Regions from separate parts of the Homo sapiens genome. Here region 1 is linked to region 2. Evidence: promoter capture Hi-C in 16 types of primary human blood cells and fetal thymus (Javierre and others, 2016). All regions are on one chromosome and are shown on one strand. Each heading gives the region's core, a stretch centred on a gene start or on the middle of the fragment in contact. The rest is flanking DNA. Distances are from core to core; before and after follow the strand shown. Region 1 overlaps CACNB2 (calcium voltage-gated channel auxiliary subunit beta 2). Region 2 holds the start of MINDY3 (MINDY lysine 48 deubiquitinase 3).

Region 1 (5,902 bases), core at 3,150-5,649, 2.3 Mb before region 2:
AAGATTGACTATAGCCACCACCACGAATGTATTTTCATGCAATCTAAAAGCCTCATTACTCACCTGGCAGGTATCAACTCTGTCCTGCCACGCTCCCAAGTGGAACCACTGGAAATGTGGCATGGCTAGGAAGAGCTGTTCACTTTCAAACGGGGATATGACATTCCCTCCTCCTGTAACTCAAAAGGAGACCTCTTCTCAACCTTAGCAAAGATTCTCTGAAAAATTAGTCTTAAGGGCCCAGTAGTATTCAGAAATACATCCTTTTCTTTCTCCTATCCATTTCAAAATCTAGACATCCACCAAGGAGCTTTTGGTAGTTTGTCAATGACAAACTATCTGAACTAGTATTTTATCTTTACGAAAATATATAGGTCTTGAAAGAATTTTATTTTTTGGACTACGTTTGGTTTGTCCTATTAAACCTGTCCAGAGAAATATTCAACATGTAAATGACTCAAGACAATCAATAATTTTAGAAATACTAATTTCTAAAGTCAAAAAAGACCATATTATGGTGCCCTAAAAGCAAATTTGTCGGCACTACTTAAAACATGAAAATGTTCAAAACATCAAGTTTGGGTATGCTACATATAAAAAAAAATCAATAGCTAATATAGTCAATTCTTCCCAAACCAGCAACACATATTTAATTATAAGTGAAAAAATAACCTGTTTACAAATTTTCAAACAGACCCCTTCATTGCCTGTGTAATACAGCTCAGAATTATTCCAAATATAAGTATCAAGTTGTAGAACCACACAGCTGACGAAAAAGCAAGCTGGAAACATCTGGAAAAGCACATCCTTACTTCTATTTCCTGCTGCAAAAGTCTAAAAATAGACAGACTTTGAGAGTTAAGAGAATACCTTTCTTGAAAATTTAATAACCATTTGTAACTTAAAGCAGAAAGCCCCTGGAGAAACATATCCATCTATCAAAAAAATAAAAATAATAAACTCAGTGCTCCATGCAGGTGATGTTGCCGTCAAACCATTGTTTGCCTAAGGCATATGATTAAAAAAAATTAAGCCACATTTTTCTGTGATAAAAAGTAATTTTTAAGGCAGATTTCCTGGATGCATTAATAAGACATAACATTTACATTATGTTTCACATGCAGTCAAGCCCATTACCTACAAAAGAGGAAGGAAGCAGTTCTGCAGGTAATGTGGAATGGCAGCTAATCTGGAAAAGATTATATTAGTTTTGCATTGCATCATTTAGTTTCTATTTAAATGTGCACATTCAACTTCCAGCGATTTTACAGTCATCAAATGCCAACGATGATGTGCTCCAGAGAATCCCACCAGAAGAACTCAACATCGCCCTGGGTTCATATGTGGATGTATACGCATCAGTTCCTTAGAATTCTTTAGAATTAATACGTGTTCAGGGGCTTTCTCTCTCTAAACGTCGTATCTTCTACCGCTCAGCCCTTCTCTAAAACAGTGTGCTTAAGAGTTGCCTTTCCAGTAGCTGAGATGACTACAGAAAAGGACTTCAGTCCTTTTTCAGGCTGGGCTCCAGTCTGAAAATTTAACAAATAAGGTGAACAAGCAATAAGGAATGAGGAATAACGTCAGATTCATTTTAAAACAATCTTTTTATTTTATTTTATTTTTTTGAGACAGGGTCTCACTCTGTTGCACAGGCTAGAGTGCAGTGGCACGATCATGGCTCACTGCAGCCTCCAACTCCTGGGCTCAAGCAATCCTCCCACCTCAGCTTGCCAAGTAGCTGGGACCACAGGTGTGCACCACCACACCCCACTAATTTTTTAGTTTTTGTATAGATGGGGTCTCACTATGTTGCCCAGTCTGGTCTCGAACTCCCAGGCTCAAGCGATCCTTCCACCTTAGCATGCCAAGTGTAGCTGGGACAACAGCCACATATCACTACATTCCACTAATTAAAAAAAAGTTTTTTGTGTGTGTACAGATAGGGTCTCACTGTGTTGCCCAGGCTGATCTTGAACTCCTGAGCTCAAGTCATCCTCCAGCCTCAGCCTCCCAAAGTGCTGAGGTTACAGGCATGAGCCACTGTGTCCAGCTAAAACAGCCTTTTTGAAGCTCCTTCTAAATGGCTAAAGGCTTATCAGTCCATGGGCTCATTTACCTGTTTGGGTTTTAGGGTTTAGCATTTGTGTTAAAGTGTTTTTATAGTTCCTCTGACAAGAAAGATGCAACTAATATTCGTAGGTTTCTAAAATTCAGGGTTTAAATAGAAACTTGAGATTTTTTAAAAGCAGCACATACAAAGCATACATATGTCAACTTCTACTATGCAGAATTCTACATCAAAACTGTTAATTCACTCTCCTTTTTGCTGGTACAATGATAACTCCTTTTTCATAACGATGATTCTTTTTACTTATTTGTAAACTATTTTTTAAATTGACAAATAGAAACTATATATATAGTATACAATATGATGCTTTTAATAATAATGGTTCTTAAGTAACAAATGAAGCTAAAGTTTTGCTATGTGATATGCAACATGCAACATAATACATCATGCCCATGTACATGTTAAATATATTTGAAAAGAAAGAACAAAAATTAGTCAAAAGGTAAATGAATGTGTGCAATTTTCTAAGCTTTGCAGTACTGCAGGTGTTTACATTACAGATTTAAGTGACACATGATTTCTATATGTTACAAACTTCAATATATTTTGTAACATTCTAGTAATGCTTATTAACTAAGATATATAGTTTCTCCCCCACCCCACCTTATCCATGAGGGATGCCTTCCAAGACCTCTGGTGGATGCCTGAAACCATGGATAGTTCTGATATACTGTTTCTTCCTATACATACACACCTATGATACAGTTTAATTTCTAAGTCAGACACAGTAAGAGATTAACAATAGCTAAAAATAAAATAGAACAATTATTGGCTGGGTGCAGTGGCTCATGCCTGTAATCCCAGCATTTTGGGAGGTCATGCCTGTAATCCCAGCATTTTGGGAGGCAGAGGTAGGCGGATCACCTGAGGTCAAGAGTTCAAGACCAGCTTGGCCAACATGGTGAAACCCTGTCTCTACCAAAACTACAAAAATTAGTCAGGTGTGGTGGCTCACGCCTGTAGTCTGAGCTACTAGGGAGGCTGAGGCAGGAGAATCACTTGAACCCGGGAGGTAGAGGTTGCAGTGAGCTGAGATCATGCCACAGCACTCCAGCCTGGGTGACAGAGTGAGACTCTGTCTCTAAATAAATAAATAGAAGAATTATAACAATATACTGTAATAAATGTTATGTGAATGTCGTCTCTCCCTCAAAATATTTTATTGTACTGTACTCAAGTTGACCTCGATTAACTGAAATCTTGAAAGAAAACCATGGATAATTGGGAACTACTGCACCAATCCCTCCCCAACAGTGGACTTAAAACTTTGGTTGGCTTAATGCTTACACTGGCATGTCTTACTTCACCTTCCAGCGAAAAATGGAGCCCGGCATTACCCTCCCCACTTTGCTTGCTAAGCTGCAGTGCAGAAGGCACCACTACTGCGCCCCCCAGCATGCTTTTTGGAGAGGACTGGAGCACACTGGGACGTTCATGTGAGAATCTGCATGTGCCCCTTTCTGGAATTTGAGGGAAGTACATGGACGCAGCCTGCGTCTTGCTCCTACATTTCCTTAGACATGTCTGAAAGCCAGAGAGTGGCTGGCTGGAGCAGTTGGTCCCATCGGGGAAAAGAAGGAACATGCACAGCATGAGGGGAATGGGAGAGAAAGAAGTGACTGCACAATGCTGCTGTTTCTGTGGCTCCATGTGACACAATACACAGGTGGGAGGATGAGGTGGACATAGTAGGGATGCCCAGGCAATAGCCCGAGCAGTGGATGCCCCATCTGGAGAGAGGAAGTCAGGGAAGAGGACTGCCTTCAGGAGACAAAGGAGATACAGCTATGTGTCTCTAAGAATCCTCATGGATGATGGCCATGCGCAGTGGCTCACGCCTGTAGTCCCCAGCACTTTGGGAAGCTGAGGCGGGTGAATCACCTGAGGTCAGGAGTTTGAGACAAGCCTGGCCAACATAGCGAAACCTTGTCTCTACTAAAAATGCAAAAATTAACTGGGCAGCCATGGTGGTGCATGCCTGTAGTTCCAGCTACTTGGGAGGCTGAGGCATGAGAATCACTTGAACCCGAGAGGTGGAGATTGCAGTGAGCCAAGATTGCACCACTGCACTCTACCCTGGGTGACAGAGCAAGACTCCATCTCAAAACAAACAAACAAAAAAATTCTCATAGATGGAGAGGGCCTGGGGAGACTGAAAACCGTAGATTCTCTCTCCCTGGACCCACCCCACAGAGGTAAGCATCAACAGATGGAACCCTTGCAAATTGGAGCAAGAACAAAGATGCCTTCCTGTCTCTGATGGGTTGTAGAAACTCTTTGCCTCCTTGACTTCTGATCTAAATCACTGGAGGAGTTAGGTTTTGATGAGGAGCAGGGAACATTGAAACACTACCCTCTTCTCTCCACTCCAGTAAGCTGGAATAGAAGAAAGAATTGAAGATCAGGCCAAGGACCCCATCCAATTCTAAGACTCAGAAGTGTGGTTTGGAGGTCATGGAGATCAGATTTCATTCATATTTGTGAATGGAATTTTAAGCTGCATAGAATTTTGTTGTTTAAATCCAAAATGACTGGTACATTAAACAATACACCAAATATTAAGAAAATGTGCTCACCCAGTGGAAAAGAAAGAGCTGTCATGGCACACAGTTAGAGGCATTGAATGGAAATAAAAATAGTAAAATTCACAGATTTTTGACTGTTCAACAAACTAGTCATGCGCATCCTCTATGCATATATAGACAACAATAACAGCTACCATTTACGAGTGCTCGCTGGGCTAATTGCTGCGCTTAGTACTTTATAAATCCCATTCAATTCTCACAATAACTATATGAGTTAGGTATTAGTGTCCCCATTATACGGATGAGAAAACTGAGGCTAGCAAAGGGATGTAACCTTCCCAATAGTGCAGAGGTAGTAAGTTAATGCTCAAGTCTTTCTGATTCAAAGGACCATGCTTCTAACCACTGGACAGATAACTGTCATGTTAATAACATATGTTGAAAGGAAAGTCCAGGAAATTTCTATTCAATGATACAGATCTTAAGAATTTTTTTTTAAAAACCCTCAAAAACAAAAAACACTTGACATCTACAAATGTATAAACATTAGAGAGTTTGGAATATAGAGTCTTGGGCATGAAAGCCAGACCTTTTTTTTTTTTTTTTTCTGGTAAAGTTTAAGGAATCCAGCAAGAAGTGAAGCATTTTACCACTAGTAGGAACTCATTAAATATTTGTGGCATTAAAATGAAATGAAGCCTACTCTTGAAATTGACTCTATACAGAAAGTACAGTATGGAATGCATATGTGATCAGAAGCAATAACATGTATATTCATTTACTCAACAAGTACTTTTGAATGTTTACTGTATTCTAGGCTGTTTGTCTGGATATCACCAAGTTCTGAATGTATAACGGTAAACAAAACAGGTAGTGTACTTGCCCTCGCAGAGCTTAACACATCCAAATCTATCATGCCATAGTTTTGTTATCTCACTAAATCCAGAGGTTAAATGATTTTGTGGCCTAAGGCCACACATAAAATGTCAGAGCAAAAATTACAAAGCAGGAAATTTGAATCCTATGACAGGTTTAACTTTGAAGAAACTAAATTTTAAAAGAAAAACTATCACTTTCAAGAAAGAAAATAAAAGATTCTGCTTTTGTCAATTAGAGCAAGATTTCCTTATCCCACTGATATTTCAAATAGCCTGGTTAACAAAGGCACAATTCACATCTACAAATAATGTTAGGTCCACCTATTCTACTTAGTAACGGGTGTTTAGTGGTGATGTGTCATTTCATG
Region 2 (5,280 bases), core at 2,190-4,689:
GGTGAGTCTGAAAGGGACTTGTTTGCTCAGCTGGACAAGTATTATCCTGCTGAGATAAGGTTAGGATGATGCAGAAGGAAGTAGTTTCATTTGCTTTGGTAGATTTATGCTGCTATTGGAAGGCAGAGGACATACAAATGAAAAAGTTTTAGTAATAAATGAGTATGGGATTGTTTTAATGACCCACCTAAATGTTATTAATCTTATGACAGGGTGAGTTTTTGAAATATTTGATTTCTTCTAGGTAAGGAGTAATGTAAATACACTAAATTAGGAGTCCAGGGTTTCCAACTGGAGAATTGTACTTTTCATGTTAGTTGCTAGGAACTAGGCAATAAAGTTGTTGTGCTTTTATCTGGCAAAAAAGTTTGAGGAAAGACAGGAAAATAATTAAACAGAGTTAGAGTTTAATGCTGAGTAATTAATTTTGTTGCCTGAAGTAGTAAAGATGGATAAAAAGAATTCATTATAATGGAAATCTCAGCCCAGTTTTATGGAAGCACCCTGACTTGAATTTGAAAGAAACAGAAGTATTATTAATAAAACTTACATATAAATAGGAAGTGAAAGATTATTAATGCAACCTATATACACCTCAGTGATACAAGTTTAATCGAAACCATAGACAGTCCTGAGAAAAACAATATGCTAAAATATGAAGTGTTATAAATACATGAAAGAACATTTACATAATTTTCCAAGTCATTATAACAAGAGAAAGGCATTTTCATCCAGCACCAGGTATAGATGCAAAACGTGATTCACTTAAATATTTATTTATAGATAATTACTGAATAAGAACAATTTTGATGAATATTAATTTCTATTTAAATGTTATACCTAATGAATAATTAAGCCAATAATTTAAAAGTAAAATATTCCTTGTTAAAGATATGTCCTGCTAATTAAAAAATTTAAAAGATTACACATAAAAATTATAATGTGGGCCAGATGTGGTGGCTCACGCCTGTAATCCCAGCACTTTGGGAGGCTGAGGTGGGTGGATCACCTGAGGTCAGGAGTCGAAGACCAGCTTGGCCAACATGGTGAAACCCCATCTCACTAAAAATACAAAAATTAGCCGGGCATGGTGGCGGGTGCCTGTAATCCCAGCTACTCAGGAGGCTGAGGCAGGAGAATCACTTGAAACTGGAAGGTGGAGGTTGCAGTGAGCCAAGATGGTGACACTGCACTCCAGCCTGGGCAAAAGAGCGAAACTCCATCTCAAAAAAAAAAAAAAATATAATGTGGAAGTGGAAAGGACATTCATATAAATGTCTATCCAGGATTTTGCCAGCATCACTGTAGCTGGAAACTAAGAAAAATCATAGATCAAAAAATTTCTCGTTTAAAAAAATACAGTTTGAAAGTACAATTTTTTGTTTTTTCATAACAAAGTAATCAAACTTATAACTACTATCTATATTAATGTAAAGGAAACAAATGTAGTGTTATATACACTACACCATTAATATTTACATACATTAATGGAGAAAGTCAAATGTGGAAACACTTCTGAACTTAGAAGTCTGCCAGTTATGAGCTCTATGTACATAGACCCTTCTGTGTCTTTCAGGAAGTGGAAGAATTACGTAAATTGTAATCAGCATGCGAATATTAGATATTTAACTGGAGCAGTCAGTACTACTTCCCCGATCTCTCACTTGCTGAGAGATAATGAATTCTTTATTTCCAGTAAAGGCAAGTTTTGTTCCTTGGAATCGTAATTATTGAGATCCAGTGATGTTCAAGGCCCCATGCTAGAATTATGAATAGGCAGCTCTTTGCTTCCATAAATTTATATCCCAAGAGAAAAGCAAATAACTCTTTGCAAATACAATGATGATAGGAATTGTCATAAGCAAGTTACACATAAGGTACTATGAAGCCTCAGAAATTATAATTATTACTTTCAATTGTAATGACTGGAGAAAGTTTGGCATGCACACTCTGACATGAAGGATAGGTAAGATTTGATTTGCAAAAACAAGGCAAGGGATATTCTAAAGGGAATAAAGATCAAAAGGAATGCTATGGCTCTACTACAGGCACTTTGGGCAAGTCCCTGTAATTACAGTAAAGGGTACTGAAGAAATAAAATTAAATTAATTAAAATAAAATTAGAAATAACGTATAAATAGGAAAAAATAGCTAGTAATAAAGCATAAATTAACAAAACCTTATTTGCAATCTAAAAGATTTTAAATTAAGGGTTAATTTTAATTAGCCAAATGCAAGGGTATTCTACAATGAAACTGCATGTTTTTGAAATTAGAGAACATAACGTATTATACTAAAATACAACTGGCTAGAATTTATGGGTAAAAAAGTCAGAACTACTGTTGCATCAAATTCCCACAAAATGGCTTCTTGAGGTAAAAAAAATACCCACTGTTGCATAAATGCCTTCCATGTGCTAGGAAGTACACCAAATCCTTTGTATGTGTTACTTTTTCCATTTATTCCTTACAATATATGAAATGTATGCAATCTCCCTTTTAGAAAGAAAAAAGCCTAGGTAGATAGTAGGTAACTTGCTAGTAAGTGCAAAAGGTAGGAATATGGGCCAGTATGACCCACAGCTTGGCCTCTTAACTATTGCATTACTGCATCCCAAAGTAATATGGTTTCCAAGGAGTACAGAAACCTTACAGAACCAAAATAAAAGCATGTATTTTTTTTTAAATCAGATTTTGCCCTTTCGTTTTAAATTCAAAGCTCGGGCAATACAAGCCCTCTTTTTTTAAGCAGCACAAACATAAGTTTTCACATGAACTCAATTTAACTGCTAGTTAATGAGTAAAACCTAAACTTTAGTCCAGGTGTTGCCCACACACTCTGCAGTGTCAAAAACTGGAGATGAAAATGCTGTAACATTTACAAACAGGTTGCTCTGAATTTGTTTCCCTACAAATACCTTGTAATTCTGCGTTGCAGCTGGTGGAAGCATTTCTAATGCACATTATGCCACATTCTTTGCCATGTTTTTAGGTAATAGTTGGTCTGACTTTGATTTATTGAAGTACAGAGGCGGACAGCCTCCAGCTTATGAGAAGCGCCCTACAAAGGCACGGATGTTACCGCACTGTGACTCAACTATTGCCTTATAGTTCTAGTTTTGCAAAATTAATATTGAAAAATACAAGCAATGGGCATATGTTCTAATTCCTAGTGCCTGGGCCTCAGAGCCTCCAGCTTAGCCCAGAGCAGTGCGTAGAGGAAGAAGGTATTCCTGGAGTTTAGAAACACGCCGACGCCCCTTCCCAATACAAAAACTACCACCCCACCAAAGGGTCCCAGACAGTTCAGAAAGGTCAGAAGCTACTTCCACCGCTTTCCGTGCCTGTTTCCGCCTCCAATTTCACTTCCGGGGAGGGGACTTCCGGGCCCTCAGCCTTAAGGGGCGGGAGTTAAAGAGGAGTCGGAAGTGGCACCAGCACTTCCGGTACGGAAAACTCGCTGCTGCCCCAACCTGGCTTGACAGGCTTGGTCTCTGCAAGTGGCTCTCAGCCCCTTCTTCTTTCCTGCCTCACCTTCCAATTCGTTTGCCGCCGCCGTCCCGCAGCTGCTGTTTCCGGAGTTGCCCCTTCCCCATGTTCCGGGGCAGGAGTCCGCAAAGCGAAGATCCGCCCGCCGGTTCCTCATCATGTCCGAACTGACTAAAGAGCTGATGGAGCTGGTGTGGGGCACCAAGAGCAGCCCCGGTCTCTCGGACACCATTTTCTGCCGCTGGACGCAAGGTACCCTGGCGGGGCTCTCACACTTGCAGCCGCTGCTTCTTTTGCCCTGCGAGAGTCCGCCTGTGACGCCTCTCGCTCCAGCCCCTCGCGTGCCCCGCTCTCTGCCCCAGTCGCCGTGCTCAGCGCTGAAGCTGGACTTTCTAGACACGCCCTGCCTTGCCTTGGTGGGGAGAGTTTGAGTAGGAGAATGGTTACAGCTGCCACTAAATACCCGCAGCGCTCTTTCCATCCTCCGGGCTGCCCTTCGGCTGGGGAGGAGGAGAGGGTGGCCCCTTGCTGGGTTGCAGGGCGTGACACGGAAGATGCGCCCCGTGCCCCGGTGTCACTTTCTCAAGGGGTGCTGTGGCCTTCCGCATCTTTACCCCCTAACAGAGCTGTCTATTGGTGGTGGTTGGTCTATTTTTGGTGAGAAGGAGGGACGTCCAAGGGAAAGTCCAAGTGGCTAATTCCAAAAAGCAGTTTTTTGTTTGTATTGTCATTATGTGGTTAGGCGTGGTAGTCTGTGTATAAACACTGTTATTTGCTAAAAAGTGTACTCTTGGCCCAAAGTATCCCCGTTTTTTATATGGTTTATTATCTGTCACGGTTAAAAAAGGAATATGGATCATAGTACTTCCTCGGCCGGTATGCTTGTAACCCAGACAGGACTTTTACTTACATGAAGAGTCTTAGTACAAATAATAATGAAATAAAATAAGCATTTATTGAATTCTTGCACTGTAACAGGCTGGGCGCTTTATACTAGTAACTATCCCTAATTCTTAAGTTTGGATAGGCAAACAACTGACACATTCCTAAAGGTGACTTAGGAAAGATGATGATGAGGTTAAAACATAACCTTGAGTCAGAAGGATCAATAATTTATGTATGTAAAACACTATTATTATTAAAACATCTATTTAGGGAACACCTGTTCCCGAAATAGATTGGGCGGAATTTTGGCATAGTAAATATAAACCCCTATTTCAAAACGTGTATTTTGTAACAAAAATTCAGGATTTACGTAATCTCTCCCTCCCTCCCACATGTTTGTTTTAAGAGCTGGTAAAATTACAATTACGATGTATTGTTAAGTTGGGATATTTAGTCCCTCACTGTTGCTTTGCAGGCGAAAAAAATTAGTTGTAAAGGTAAATGACTGGGCCAAAGTTGCACAAATCGATAGAACTGGGAGTGGATTCCAGGTCTCTCGATTCCTAATATACCTCTGTTTTCATTATCTTCCTTTGAGTTCCCAAACCCTACATGTAATGACTTGGGCTCTTTTTTTTCACATTCAATTATGTCAGTTACCTAATCTTGGGCTTCTTAGAGGGAGATTTTATTTTAACACTTCCCACTTTGACTTACTTATTCTAATAGTAAGCAGCTCTAAAATACTGTGAAAGACTAAGAAAAAATTTACTTCCATTGTAATCAGTTAACATTTATTAAACATTTTACAAAGTAGAATAAGATAATATTCAGCCCTGTTTATATTTATACTGTAATGCAAATACAAGGAAGATTCAGGGTGGCAGTTCTAGTAATGGTTAAGAGC

Evidence for each region. The method cuts DNA at HindIII sites, captures the fragments that hold promoters and counts their contacts. A CHiCAGO score of 5 or more calls a contact.
Region 1: a fragment that was not itself captured here is called in contact with the fragment with the promoter of MINDY3 in region 2 in 1 of 17 cell types (M2 macrophages); the score reaches 5.1 in M2 macrophages.

The regions. Positions count from the first base shown.
Region 1 is chr10:18,204,338-18,210,239 of GRCh38, reverse strand. All of the region lies in intron 2 of CACNB2 (calcium voltage-gated channel auxiliary subunit beta 2), which reads right to left. Among named protein-coding and RNA genes, the nearest start is that of CACNB2-AS2, 54 kb to the left of the region's middle. The HindIII fragment of the contact is 3,594 bases long and covers 2,603-5,902 here.
Region 2 is chr10:15,858,666-15,863,945 of GRCh38, reverse strand. MINDY3 (MINDY lysine 48 deubiquitinase 3) reads left to right here and starts at 3,439. Exons shown (of 15, transcript NM_024948.4): 1 at 3,439-3,740. The coding sequence starts at 3,647. It overlaps LOC124902383 (a long non-coding RNA gene), which reads right to left. Exons shown (of 4, transcript XR_007062071.1): 4 at 5,146-5,280. RefSeq lists an enhancer at 3,648-3,697. The HindIII fragment of the contact is 10,196 bases long and covers 1-5,280 here.